Regions from separate parts of the Homo sapiens genome. Here region 1 is linked to region 2. Evidence: promoter capture Hi-C in human tissues and cell types (Jung and others, 2019). All regions are on one chromosome and are shown on one strand. Each heading gives the region's core, a stretch centred on a gene start or on the middle of the fragment in contact. The rest is flanking DNA. Distances are from core to core; before and after follow the strand shown.

What was found. Contacts are between HindIII fragments. The study calls those that stand out against the background at their distance.
Region 1: a contact is called between a fragment that was not itself captured here and the fragment with the promoter of LSM5 in region 2, in 1 of the 25 tissues and cell types used here (lymphoblastoid cells).

The regions. Positions count from the first base shown.
Region 1 is chr7:33,876,704-33,884,251 of GRCh38, reverse strand. It overlaps LOC124901613 (a long non-coding RNA gene), which reads right to left. Exons shown (of 2, transcript XR_007060282.1): 2 at 6,978-7,200. Among named protein-coding and RNA genes, the nearest start is that of BMPER, 25 kb to the left of the region's middle. The HindIII fragment of the contact is 4,552 bases long and covers 1-4,413 here.
Region 2 is chr7:32,486,917-32,494,065 of GRCh38, reverse strand. It overlaps LSM5 (LSM5 homolog, U6 small nuclear RNA and mRNA degradation associated), which reads left to right and starts at 3,686. Exons shown (of 5, transcript NM_012322.3): 1 at 3,686-3,746; 2 at 4,722-4,817; 3 at 5,414-5,441; 4 at 6,309-6,381; 5 at 6,773-7,149. The coding sequence starts at 3,701. The coding sequence ends at 6,805. RefSeq lists an enhancer at 3,734-3,783. The HindIII fragment of the contact is 28,883 bases long and covers 1-7,149 here.

The DNA.
Region 1 (7,548 bases), core at 888-3,387, 1.4 Mb before region 2:
AAAGCCCAGATACTGCCACTCATTTGCTGAGTCAACTTGTCAAACCTCAATTGCCTTCACCCATACAATAGAGATAATCTGTGCCAGTGGGACTATCTGTACCAGTAGAACATGGTTGGCTGCAATAAACATAATTTCCAATATTTAAAAATAATATAAGCATTCATTCACTCACATAACCATAAGTCCCAAGAAAGTAGTCTCATGGTAGGTAGACTCAGCATTCAAAGGCTTCGGGAGTCTGTCTGCAATCATTATCTCCTTTTGTGCAACTCTGTTGTAGCCACTAAACAGTCCCATGTGTTCTGGTCCAGGACCTTGAATTCTGATTCCATTTGTACAGTGTAGGATGTGTTGTCATGATAGTAAGATGGCTCAAATCTTTTGTGCATGGATAACGTAGGTAAACACAAGTAAATAAACAATATGAGGAACTCAGGAATGAAAGCATATGTTTGTTCTGCTATAACTCCACAGGGCAACCTCACTGTGTGTGAATGGGCAGCTGGCTGCCCTTGTTGTGAAGAGTTTCCTGGTTGGGGTTAACAAGAATGAAAATCAAAACAGACCAGGCTCAAAGCCTCACCCCATCCCGTCTCTACTCAGGGAAGGGCTGAGAGCCAGGGGAGGAAGTAGGAGGAGATCAAGGTAATGGGTCTTGTGGATAAACCAGAAAAGGAACTGTGGGCAGCTCTCTTAGAGAGCCACAAGGCTGGCACTACAAGATAACCAGTCTAGACTGTCTTCCAAGGGCTGAGAGACAAACTCTCACCCCGTGCAGCCCGACCAACAGGCCCACCCCTTTGCTGTGGCTTCCCAGCTGCTGCCACCATGGAGTTGTCAGGAAATTTGTGATAATTCTTTTTATTGATCATCTCTATTGATTCTGTCTATGGTGAAAATATACTGCAGACACATTAAGTAGCTATTATAGGTAAATTGTCTTTTAATGAATTGTACCAACAGACAGGATTTTACAGTTAACCTTAACTGGGACTCAGACTTCTCAGACACTGATGATCATAGAGGGACTAGATGCTAGTGCAGAAACCAAGCTGACATTGGACCATGGAGATTCACCTGGATACTACCAGGACATGCAAAGACCTGCCCAAATGGGCAAGCCTGAATAAGCATGGGTTCTCTTCTCATTGGGAGATAAAACAAATCACCATAAAGATCACACAATGATGAATCCTATGACTCTATTTCAAAAGCATACAAATTTTGCCATTTTCCTCAACTTTAAATATTTGCCAATTAGTCTCCTTATTTCAAAACTCCATCAAAAAAGGCAGGGGGAGGGCATCACTTTGGATGAACTCCCTGTCTTGTCTCATATCTTAAAGCCAGGTTATTGCTTATGAGAGACTAGAAGAAAGCAAGACTTCAGCACTTTGTAGAAGGGTTTTCTTCTTTCTTCTTCATGCAGTTTTTTGTTTGTTTTATTTTCTTAAAAAAAAAAACAAGCTCTGTGTGTGTGTGTGTGTGTATGTGTGTGTGCATGTGTGTGTGTCTGAATTTTGGCAAAACTGTATTGAGAAGAATCCTTGGAAGCTTAAGTCTAATCTGCCAAATTATAGCCAGTAGCAACATTTTTCCACTTTGTTATCACATCCTCAAAACAGGGCTTGAAATAGAAGTGTCACTTTGTGGTGGTGCTAGCAAATACTCAGAGTACGCAATGACCAGAAGCAAGACTTTGGCTATTATTGTTTTACAATGTAATGGGCAAAAATCACCATAAAAATATGCTATCTCTGATGGGAAAATGGTCCTTGCCAAACTTTTGAAAATTGTGATTTCAACGGTTTGGCAGGAAAAAAACCCTGTATTTTGACAGAAAATGAATTATGGCTACAGGCATTGAATACAAAGGCCAATGTCTCGATTGTATTTGAGTTTTGGTTTTAAGGGGAACAATCATTTAGGGCTGGTCACGTGATAAAAATCCTCTTTTCTTACACAATCTACGGGAAATAGAGTAGCCCTTCCAATTCTCACTGGCCAACATGCCAGAATCCTTTTGGTACAAATCCAAAGGAAGGTTCCTCTCCAAATCAACAGAACCCAGGCTGCTGCTTAGATTACGTGGACTGAACGCTGACTATAGGCCAAGCTCTGGGCTCACAGCTTTGGTCCTTCTCTTCTGACTCTCAACAGAGCCTCTGTCCCAAGGCTGTTTTGCCTCTTGGTTATAAGATGGCTGCCTGCAGCAATCAGCATTCATTTGTGTACTGATTCCACCCAACAGGACAAAAACAAGAAAAGAACACTTTTCTCCCAACATGGGATGCAAACAATTCCTGCTTGCATAGTTGAGTCAGTTCAATCATGTGCCCTCTCCTAAATAACTGCAGATGTTAGGGAAGGACCATAGGCTTCTTGGTTTACATTGCTCAGAACACCTCTTTGGAGCTGGAGACAATGTGGACACCTGGATGAACCTGGGGCTCTGTTCAGAAATCAGGAAGTGAACGTCCGGTGGGCAATCAAAGGTGTCTGCCACATGGTCTTATTTAGTGCTTACTATGCAGTGTGTATGATTTTGGTTCATGAAGAAATTGAAACTTACAGATATCAACAAATGTGCCCAAGTTTACATAGCTGGTATATGGTGGAGTCTGGGCTTGAACCCAGGCATATTGAATGAGGAAAGCTCATACCTTTAACCTCATCATTCTGCCGCTTCCTTTTAGTCAGCGTTCCAGGCTGTGCTTCCAATATTTTTCTTTATACATGTTTATTGTCTATGCCACAAAGAAGTGACGTTTTTCTGTTAGTAATATAAATAGCAAAGAAGTATGAGCCAATGGGATGTAAGCAATTGATTCTGCTCTCCGTTATTGCCTTCCTGCATCTGCTGCTACACTACAAAACTTAATGGTTTAAGATAGCTATGTTAAAGGATAATTTTCAAAATAAGGTAAAACCATAATCTCATGTAGGTATAGGATGAGCACATGTTAAATAAAATGAAGGAAACAGATAGATGTTACAAGTAATTCAAAGAAGTCAAAGAAGCATAAATTTATACGGAGCAAAGGGAAATTGAAATGCAAGCAAAAATGGGATAAACCTGACTTTTGCAGGAAAAGAGAGTGCTGTTCCTCCACTGGACAGAATTCATTTAAATGTGTATAGAAAAGAATTATTTGTGGTTGAGATCAGTTGTTTATAATATCACAGAGCTGTGAAATAGCTCCCATAGAATTAGAATCTGATAACCCAGAAGGGTGTGCTGTAGACAATGCATAGTTTTCCATTGAATTTCTTCCCTATACCACAAACATTCACTTTCTCATGACTTTACAATTTGGGCTGGATTCAGCTGGGAAGCTCTGCTAGTTTCACCTGAGATCATTCCCATGGCTTTGATCATCTGAAGGTTTGACTAAGGCTGGATAGCCCTCCCTACTAATTAGTGCTGGTTCTAAAATTTGTACCCACAGGGTTTTAATTGATAGAAGAGACTGAGTGACAACATGGAGAGGTTAATGACCTTGAGAGAAGATTTTTGTTACTTACATTTCCCCAGAGAAGGGGGCATTCCAAATCACTCAGGACCACATGGCAAAGAACTAGGTTTTGATTTAGAGGCAGAAACAAGAGTAAGGGGGAAGCCTAGACCTGAGACTTTATTGAGATTTTTGCAAAAAGGAAAGGCAAGACAGAGTCAAAGTTTAGAATCATCTCATTTGAATAACTCTGGGGGGCTCGGAGACATAAAGACTGTCCCTGGTTGTCTGATACCTGGCCCTGGATTGATTTAGGACAGGGGAGATATTGGCTTGGTGTGTGGGAGTTAGCTGAAGGGGGTTGGGGGACAGCACTGGGCTGAACAGTCTATACATGAAAGGCCAACACCCCCAGGAGTAAGCTAGCTCTGCAAGGGTCAGTGTCTCCCCAGGTCTGAAAGACCTGCAAGATGTCCAAACATCTTAACAATACAGAAAATACAAAACATGATTAACACAGTGCTGCCATCAGCTGAGCCACCTCCATTCTCTTCTGAGTGGCCTCTCATTATCCAGTCCACTTCACTGGGTGTCCTGTTATGGCAGCTGAGATCCAAGAGGGAGGGCAGAAGCTGGCAAGACCTCTAGAGGCCAAGGCTCAGAAATGACAACAGTGTCACTTCCACTGAATTCTATAGGTCAAAGCAAGACACAGGGACAGCCCAGGCCCAGGGAGGTGAGAGAGAATCCTCTTTTTCATAAGAGGAGCCACAAAGAATTGGTGACCATAGTTAATCTACCCATAGAAACTTATCAAATCACTCACCAAATTTTACTGGAATTGCTTGTTGATATGGCCAACTCACACACTCACACACTAAATAAGATTCTTATGGGACGAGACTGTGCCTTATTTATCTTTGTACTCAAGGGCCTGAAATACATTAAACACTATTTGTCCAAAGCTAATGGATGGAAAGATCATTCAGCTGGATGGAATTAAATGAGCAAAGATAAGGAAGCAAGAAAATACAAGAACTGTTCAATTTCCCGAAGCTGTTCAATTTAGTGTATGATGGATAGTAGAAAACAAAAGTTGTAAGAGCCTTGTATTCAAGACAAAGGACTTGGACTTAGTTCTTGGGAAATAGGATACCACGAAAGGTCTTTGAGTGAGAGAATGACTGGTACTGTTGTGCCTCTAACATTGCTTAAATTAACTGGTGGCTGGGATGAGGGGCCAGTTTAATCATTTTGCCACAACAAAGACAAACACTAGGGGACACACAGGGGCTACTTTACCTTGCAAGGGATGCAGTCAGTTGTCTTATGCATCGACTTCTTGTCTCATCAGTTCTGTTGCAGAATGGCCTGAGTCAACTTGGTCATTCACAATTGTCCACTTCTTTTTGGTTGATTTCTTTAGCCTCTATTGAGAGCTGCAAGTCTCTCATACCCTCAACAGCAGATCATATGTTACAGTGAAATCAAATCTCTGACCAAATTCTGCCTCATGAACAAGCAATTATTAACATATAGGCACAAAAATATCACAGAGTCTGCTCATGTAAGTTCAGGGAGGCATCACTGCATTCTTCAGACTCCCTGAAAAGTAGCTTGCTTGAGGGTTTTACTTGGGGCAAAGGCCACTGTGCTCTAACAGTAGATCTTAGCTAACCTGAGTCCATTCAAGCCACATGATCCCTCCATGTTATGGCCAAATCTAAGACTGAATGAGAGTCCTGGGCCTAGGGTACCACTTGGGAGAGTACAAGGCTCTGGGCTTTCCACATTCTTATGCCTCTCGTGCAAAAACAGAGGTACTCTGCTGTCCATTATTTCTAGTCAACTCACATATTTTATACACCACTCCTTTCACAGATGTATGCATTTCTAATATTATTTATGCTATTTAACAAATGCCCTGATATAAATCTTTAAACAGCTTTATTGAGGTATAATTCACATGCCATATAATTCACTTACTGTTAGATCAACTAGTACAGATCAAAACGTGATCCCTGTAGCTCTTGTGTATTAGTTATCTATTGTTGTCACATAAAAAATTACCTCTAAATCTAATGGCTTAAAACAACATTTGTTATCTCAGTTTCTGTGGGTCAGAAATCCAAATACAATTTATCAGGGTCCTCTGCTTTGGGGTATCTCACAAGGTGCAATCAAGGTGTCAGCTGGGTTCACTGTCATCTCACGGCTCGACGCAAAAGGATCAGCTTCCAAGGAAGGCAAGAGAGAGAGAGAGTGCTAGCAAGATGGAAGTCACAATCTTTTATAACCTGATCTTTCAGAACATCTCAACACTTTTGCTATATTCTATTTGTTCAATCAAATTGCTTGGTCCAGCCTATACTCAAGTGGAGAGGATTACTGCACAAGGGTGGAAACGCTGGGAGACTGCCTACCATACCTTATAATAATTTCCCGTGGACTCTTGATTAGAGTCTTTCAAATGTTAACCAACAACCCTCTACTTTAGGTACAGAAACAAATTAATACAAGTATTTATCACCTTGAAGTCTATGTTGAAATATTTTAAAGTCAATTACAGACAGAATAATAGTACTGCTACTCTATTTGCCCAAGACACCAAACTATATTTTTAAAAATTTCTATTAAAAATAATTTTATTTCTCAGTAGAGTTTCCTTTGATCCCTGATCTTTACATTTATCTTGCCAGTTTTACAGGCCTTATTTCCATGTATGGCTTATAGAGAGGCAGAACAGGTTAAGCTAAAAAAAATAAATAAATAGGCCCAAGACTTGAAAAGTTGAGTTTTTTCTGATTACAGAATGTTTAAATCCACAATAAGAGACAATACAAAGTCACCAGGTAGTTAGTGAGATTGCCAAAATTGTAGCTGGAGAAGACAGTTGACATTGAGGTCATTTTTTCTAAGAAAATAGCTCTCAAATTTTTGTCTATCTTGAGTAGAGGAGGAAAAAAAGAACAACAGGATTACTTATACTGAAAATAATCTACTCCCTCTTTGGTATTGGAAACCATAAACAGTATATTTTGACAAGAAATAAAATATACTTATTCAGGATGTAATCTTTAAAACCTGACATAAAATTGACAATTTCTGCCGTGTGACCTGGGTAATGCAATAAAATCATCTTTGTGTACATGAGCTCTCAAACAAATCTCCTATGAGCCTGCATTGTAAAGGGTGGCAGAGAAGAAGATAATGGACTCTCACCCCTGCACAAGATTGGGTTTCTTGGAAACACAGGACGTATGACTTGGATAGAAAATTATTCTTTGGGTACACAAACCACAGAAGGCTTTTTGATGGAACACAACTTTCAAAAATTAAAAGATTCCAATCTTGCGAAGTTTCAATTGGATTCATGTCCTTATAAAAGTCATTTTTATTTAACTTGGTAATTGCAAGGTCAAATCAAAAGTGAGCAGAGTGCAAACTTCTAAATCATGTCATTAAGCAGCCAAATTTATAAAATTTCCCATTATTAAGGAAAGGTATAGCCACTCAATGTTATTGGTAAAATCATTTTATTCTAAAAACAGCAACAACAATAGCAAACTTACTTGTAAAATGGCTAAAATGAAAAACAAAACAACTCATTTCCATCAACTTATTGTAGGAGAACAATACTGCCACATAAACAGCAATAAGACGAAGACTTCTATTTCTTTTGGTGTAATTGAAAGCATCTTGATAAATGTCAGCTTGTCTGTTGAATAAAATCCATGTCAACCTGTCACATAAAAATACAACATTTTTTTTTCATAATCTCATGAAGTCAAGGCATTCCCTGGGCTTCAAGCTTGTTCCAGTGAGAAACAATAAGATCTTTATGCAGCTATTCACTTTGAGGTATAAATAACCAGAACCCCAGATAAGAAAATTATATTTACAGCCTAACTTTATTATTTTAAAATTGTTGTTTTTCTCCTTAGCAGATCAGCTGACTGTGGATTGCTGGAAATCCCTGCACATTTTATCATGCCTCAGTCAGCAATATATTCTTGGCTTCAGAAACATTGATGTTGAAAACCGAACATCTGGTCTTCCCTTTCTACCCCCGCTTCTACCATTTCTCCCC
Region 2 (7,149 bases), core at 2,437-4,936:
GTCAGGAGTTCTAGACCAGCCTGGCCAACATGGTAAAACCCCCTCTCTAGTACAAAATACAAAAATTAGACCTGTAATCCCAGCTACTCGGACGGCTGAGACAGGAGAATTGCTTGAATCCGGGAGGTGGAGGTTGCAGTGAGCCAAGATTGCACCATCGCACTTCAGCCTGGGGGACAAGAGCGAGATTTCCTCTAAAAAAAAAAAAGATATATATAAAAAGAGGGTCAGGCGTGGTGGCTCATGCTGGTAATCCCAGCACTTTGGGAGGCCGATGCGGGCAGATCACTTGAGGCCAAAAGTTGGAGACCAGCCTGGGCAACATGGTGAAACCCCATCTCTGCTAAAAATGCAAAAATTAGCCAGGCATGGTGGTGTGTGTAATCCCAGCTACTAGGGAGGCTGAGGCAAGAGAATCACCCTAACCCGGGAGGTGGAGGTTGCAGTGATCTGAGATGGTGTCACTGCACTGCTCTCCAGCCCAGATGACAGAATGAGACTCCATCTCAAAAAAATAAAGAAAGGGAGAGAGAGAGAAAGAAAAAGTTAGTTACTGGGAAAATTGAGACAGAAAGTGAACAAGGGAATTTCCAGGATTTTTTTCATCTCTAAATACACAGACTGGACCACTTAAGAATTTAGAATATAGGTGGGGCATGGCGGCTCACACCTGTAATCTCAGCACTTTGGGAGGCCAGGGTGGGTAGATCACTTGAGTCCAAGAGTTCGAGACCAACCTGAGCAATGTAATGAGACCTCATCTCTACAAAAAATAATAAAAAATAAATAGCCAGACTTGGTAGCACGCGCCTGTGGTACTGGCTTCTCAGGAGGCTGAGATGGGAGGATTGCTTGAGTCCGCGAGCACACCACTGTACTCCTGCCTGGGTAACAGAGTGAGGTCTTGTCTCTAAATTAATAAATAAAATATGATGGGGTGTTGCTATGTTGCCCAGGCTGGCCTCAAACTCTTGGGCTCAAGGGATCCTCCTGCCTCAGCCTCCTAAGTAGCTGGGGCTACAGTTGCCTGCCACCATGCACATCTTACATTATGTTTTAAATGAGTTGTATTAATGTAGAATAAATTCATTAACAAGATATTGTCCACAAGGACAAATGTCTATTGGGAAAATAATAAAATTTCTAATTTAACTCGAGGGAGAAAATTAGAAATGCCTTTCTGAACATATAATACATGGAAGAGCCTTTGGTAGTTACATGTATTTTATGATAAATTATAAATTCTATTTTACGTCTTCTACTTAAGACTTAAAGGGAGAAAAATCCTTGAGACATAGAGCTATGACATATTTTCAAGTTCATAACAACTCTCCATTTGGAATTGGCCTGTTCTTCCTTTTTGTGTCTTGCCTCAGGAGAGAAAATAATAAAAATACCACTCCCTGAAATCCCCATTAACTCTACTATGTAAGTGAACTATATATCGTTCCTTTTTTCAGATTCTAAAGAGATTTTCTTTATTCTTTATTAGTGGCATTCAAAATTGCTAATGTTTATTCTGTTTTTTTTTTGTTGTTGTTGTTTTGAGATGGAGTCTCACTCCGTCGCCAGGCTGGAGTGCAGTGGCACGATTGGCTCACTGCAACCTCTGCCTCCCAGGTTCAAGCGATTCTCCTGCCTCAGCCTCCTGAGTACCTGGGACTACAGGCGTGTGCCACCACACCTAGCTAATTTTTGTATTCTTAGTAGAGATGGGGTTTCACCATGTTGGCCAGGATGGTCTTCATGTCTTGACCTCGTGATCCGCCCACCTCGGCCCCCAAAGTGTTGGGATTATAGGCGTGAGCCACTGTGCCCAGCCTATTTTTCTAATTTTTAAAAACTCTATCAAATAACAACAATGTTTTGAATTCTCCCATACTGTCAGTATGGTATGGGGAAAATAAAATAGGAATAGAAAAGGAAAACCAGGAAAAGAGGTGGTTTTCAACCAAATGAGGATTGGACAAAAAGAAAAAAAGAGAAAGAGAAAGAAAGAAGCGTCACAAACAAATCTGGCATTACTTCGTATTTAAAATCTTATGAAGAGTAAGGAGAATGTTGATGGGTGTGAATGAAATAGTGAGAATCAATTTAAAGAATATTCATTAGGCGCCCTACAGTGTGCCTGAAAATGTAGTGTGCACAGTGTATAAAATAAGAAATTGCTTCCTTAAAGTGGCTTATGTCTGGTTATAAAAATAAGATGAATGCAAAACCAGCTAGCAATGCTAGCTTTATGTAGCTTCACTCTGAGCCAGACATCATGTATTAGAAAACAAGGATAAGTAATAACAGCTCATGTTTAAAAGGGCTATGTGCCAGGTCCTATGCTGACCACTTTTCATAGATTATCTCAATTAATCTTCACATTAATCTTATGAGTAGATACTGTTGTCCCCATTTTTTCCAATGGGTATATTGAGACTTAAAAAGTTAAAATAACTTGCCCATTGTCAAATAACTGACCATGGAATTTGAACCAAAGTCATTTAATTCAAAATGAAGAAATTTAATCACGTAAACTACTGCTTCCCATAATTCTCAGCCTTGAGGAACTCAGTCTATGAAGGAATGATGGGTGCTTAATGACCATTTGTTGTATGAATGAATGACGTTCTTTGTGGCCGCTCATGTTTATTGTTTAGCTTTTTTTTTTTTTTTTTTTGAGATGGAGTTTCGCTCTTGTTGTTCAGGCTGGAGTGCAGTTGCATGATCTAGGCTCACTGCAACCGCTGCCTCTCGGGTTCAAGCAGTTCTCCTGCCTCTGCCTCCCGAGTAGCTGGGACTACAGGCGCACGCCACCACGCCCAGCTAATTTTTGTATTTTTAGTAGAGACGGGGTTTCACCCATGTTGGCCAGGCTGGTCTCGAACTCCTGACCTCAGGTGATCCGCCCGCCTCGGCCTTCCAAAGTGCTGGGATTACAGTCGTTACCACTGCGCCTGACCTAGACTGTTCAGGTTTAAGTTCCTAGGATACAAATATAAAACAGACTAGGGCCGATACTTTGCTGTTTTCAACACAGAAGTGGAAAGCATGATTTTACACTTCTGGAATAATTTAGAGTGACATCTGGTGGTTGCCTGTGAGACAAGAATTGTTGAAGAAACTGAATTTAAAAGCCTATAATAAATAAGACTACCAGACATAAAAAGATAAGAACGATGAATTAAAGTAGTAAAAAGTTTAAAAAACATATCTTAAATCCTCACTAAAGAAAAATTTTAAAAAATGCTAGTTGCAGATTTTCAATCCACTGGACTTTAAAAAGAAACAATAGATTCCTTAATGAGTAGTTGTAACGAAAATTGTAACAGTTAATTGATGGCAGGAAATACGAATTGATTTATACTGGTTTGAAGATTCTGGCTTGAGAGGAAATGCAACTTTACGGGGGAAGAAGACTCAAACGTTACAGGAACAATTTATTCACAAGGCAAAATATCTTCAACGTCTCTCCAAAACTTCAAGGGCATTATGGGTATCTGCCGAGATGGTAAAATGTCCAGTGGGCAGGAAATATTTCACCGGATCTCACTTGCCGGGGAAAAAAGCCAGTGAACGCGACCCACGCAGCTGACTAGATCGTGCGCTCGGCCTCAGATTGGTCGAGCCTGTTTGGGCTGCGGAAAAAGCGGAAGCGCGCTTTTCAAAGTCGTCCCACCATCAATGAAGGCAGGCCACTTCCGGCGTAGCCATGGCGGCTAACGCTACTACCAACCCGTCGCAGCTGCTGCCCTTAGGTAATCGCCGTCCTTTGGGGAGCAGGAACAGGGAGCTGACATTCAGGATTGGGGGCCGAGGGGCTGTTCCGAGGCAGGCCCTGGCCGAGTGTGGGGAAATGTATAAGACCAAATGCGGTTCGACTCTGAGCTCCAAGTCTTCGCGACAGCAGGCCGCACCTGCTCTTTAACGTGGTCGGGCTCCTCCAGGCAAGGACTTTGACTTCTCAAACCAGACCTTCACTGGAAAAGGTCCACATTTAGTGAACGCGTCGTCGGCCTACTTTGTTGTGAGCCCGCCTCTGCAGTGTTATAGGTAGTAGGCCTACTTCTCAGCCTGGCGTTTACGATCCCCAGATTAGATAGACCATGTTATGTATGTGGTTGGTTAGTGACACTAACACCCTGGTCCGGAATGAGCCTTAAATGAGGAATCTGGAAACCAGCTCTGTTTGTTATTTATTCATTCAATAAGTAGTAACTGAGTATCTATACACTAGATACCGTGCCTGGGCATTTTTCAATGATAAACCATAGCCATTGCCTTCAAATAGCACACAAGCCAGTGGAGGAGAGAACACTGGACAAGTAGACATCATGCCACATAATGCTAGGCTAGCTAAAGAGATGTTCAAGCTACCGTCAGAGCACAGAGGATAGACAGAGTTGGGAAAGGGAAGCAGTGACCGGAGAGTTTCCGGTGAATATAATTATACCTATCTCCTCTTATATTTTTGTAGTTGGTGAAGAGTGATTGAACTAGTGGTCGTGGCCGTGATTGAAAAGTTTTCATTCCTTCATGCCACAGACTCTTTTGGAAGGCTCATTATGTGCCAGATGCTGTGCTTGAACTGAGATTTGTATTATAAGACCTAAAGTTATTGAATGAATGTTTTTCCTGGTTTTTCTTTCACTATATGCAAGTAAGAGTGCCAGTAGGCACTCAAATATTTGTTGAAATAATGAATGGTAAAATAATATTTTTTCCCTCCTCAGAGCTTGTGGACAAATGTATAGGATCAAGAATTCACATCGTGATGAAGAGTGATAAGGAAATTGTTGGTACTCTTCTAGGATTTGATGACTTTGTCAGTATCCTTTTAAAAGGTGGTGGTGGTATAGGTTTTTCTTAAGTAATAACATAAGAACTATAGACAATCAGTATATTTGTGATTATTATAATAAAAATCAGTTCATTCTCAGGGAACTTATGATAATGTTTTAAGAGGTATGTATTGAAAGACGGTAAAGTTCCTATCAACAACAAGCATTTTGAATTTGAGCCATTGTATTAAACATTGTAATTAAAACTGAACAGGCGAGCCCAGTGGCTCACGCCTATAATCCCAGCGCTTTGGGAGGGCGAGGTGGGTGGATCGCTTGAGCCCAGGAGTTTGAGACCAGCCTGGGCAAGATGATGAAACCCTGTCTCCACAAAAATTACAAAAATTAGCTGGGCATGGTGATGTACACCTGTGGGTCCAGCTAATCTCCGGGGCTAAGGCAGGAGGATCCTTTAAGCCTAAAAGGTGGAGGCTGCAGTGAGGTGTGATTGTACCACTGCACTTAAGCCTGGATGACAGAGCGAGACTTTGTCTCAAAACAAAAACAAAAACAAAAAACAAAAGCTGAACAAAGGCAGAAGCTAGAGTAAATTCTGTATTTATTTTCTTAACACCAAATTTCAGATATGGTACTGGAAGATGTCACTGAGTTGTGAGTAGTGTTAAAGAATTGGGGGGAATCTCTTCTTAATTAAAGACAGTTTTACTACTTTTGAGTAAAATTATTTATGAGAAAACATTACCTCTTGGTGGAATAACGTTAAAGATAGACGTTTTATCTGTTTGCTTGTAAAATTGGATCAGAGTGTTATTACCTTAATGTAATTATTAGTAAACGCCTAGAATATTAGTGGAGACACAGTTTTAAGGTAGAAGATAACAAAAAGAGCCAGGAATTTTAGGGTTCAGGTCAAATAAAGGAACTGATAGTAAGAGCATTTAGGCTGGACATGGTGGCTCATTCCTGTAATCCTAGCACTTTGGAAGGCCAAAGGAGGAGGATTAAGCCTGGGAGTTTGAGACCAGCCTGGGCAACAAAGGGAGACCCCTGTCTCTATAAAAAATTTAAAAATTAGCTGGTTATAGTAGGGGGCAGCTGTAGTCCTAGCTGCTCTGGAGGGTGAGGATCCCTTGAGCCCAGGAGTTCTAGGCTGCAGTGAACTATGATTGTACCACTGTACTCAGCCTGGGCAACAGAGCAAGACCCTGTCTCTTAAAAAAAAAAAAACCCAAAAAACATTTCATTTCATATTTGATTTCCTGGGCAAGCTTTCACTTCTTTTTATGAAGCTCTGTCTGATAGACGTGGGTCTTAGTGTCAGTGAGTTCATTCTGCTGCTTTTAATGAAGGTTACATTACCTAGTGGATAACCTTTGTATCTGAAAATTGTGGATATAATTGCTCAACCTCAGTGTAATTTGTATACAAGGATAACCTTTTTAGGGAGGGTAAGTATTTCCAAAATGTTGGCTTTGATTTTCACTGTTTGTCCTGACTGTATTTTATCTATTCATTTAGTGAAATCACACCAGAAGGAAGAAGGATTACTAAATTAGATCAGATTTTGCTAAATGGAAATAATATAACAATGGTAAGACACATTGAAACTGTTTTATTTTGATGGGAGCCCATTTTTGGGGAGCAGTGATTACAGAACTAACCTTAATGTTGCTTGCTTGACTAAATGATCATGGCCCAGTGGTGCATAAGATGGGAAAGGGGTTCTCTGTGGTCAGGGTCCTAAAGCTCAGCTATTGAAGAGGCATTGGGTCTAAAGGTTAGTTTGCTTGGAACTTTTAATCGCTGTTGAGATAGTAAGTATTAATTGATGACGTTGGGAATTGTAAATAGATACTGACAATCTGGAGAAAATGGGAACGTGGAGTGCAGGGGACAGGCAAAGGTGGCTTAATGAAGAGCAAGGGGTTTTTAGATGACATGGTGGTAGTGTTATTAATAAACTCTTTTTCCTCTTTATGCAGCTGGTTCCTGGAGGAGAAGGACCTGAAGTGTGAATGAGTTTCCTTGACTTACACTAGATTTTGTTTTGGCTTATAATGACAAGAAAATGGAATTTTTTTTCCCACTTTCTAATGTTTAAATCCCATAAAGCTAAGTTTCCCGTTAAAGGGAAGTGCTTTGAAGATGTGTACCCATTTTTGTAAGTTAATCATGATTATCCTGGAAAAAGAAGAAAAGAGCTTCTTCTTTGCAGATGAAAATAAAGGTGTTTTTGGTTAACTGTCATTTTGTTTATTCTACTGCAGTAGCCAGTGGAACAAAGTTTGTAGTTATTTTGCCACTTACTTTTCTGTCATTATATGCTTATTTGTTTTGTCATTTACGTGACCATTTGATT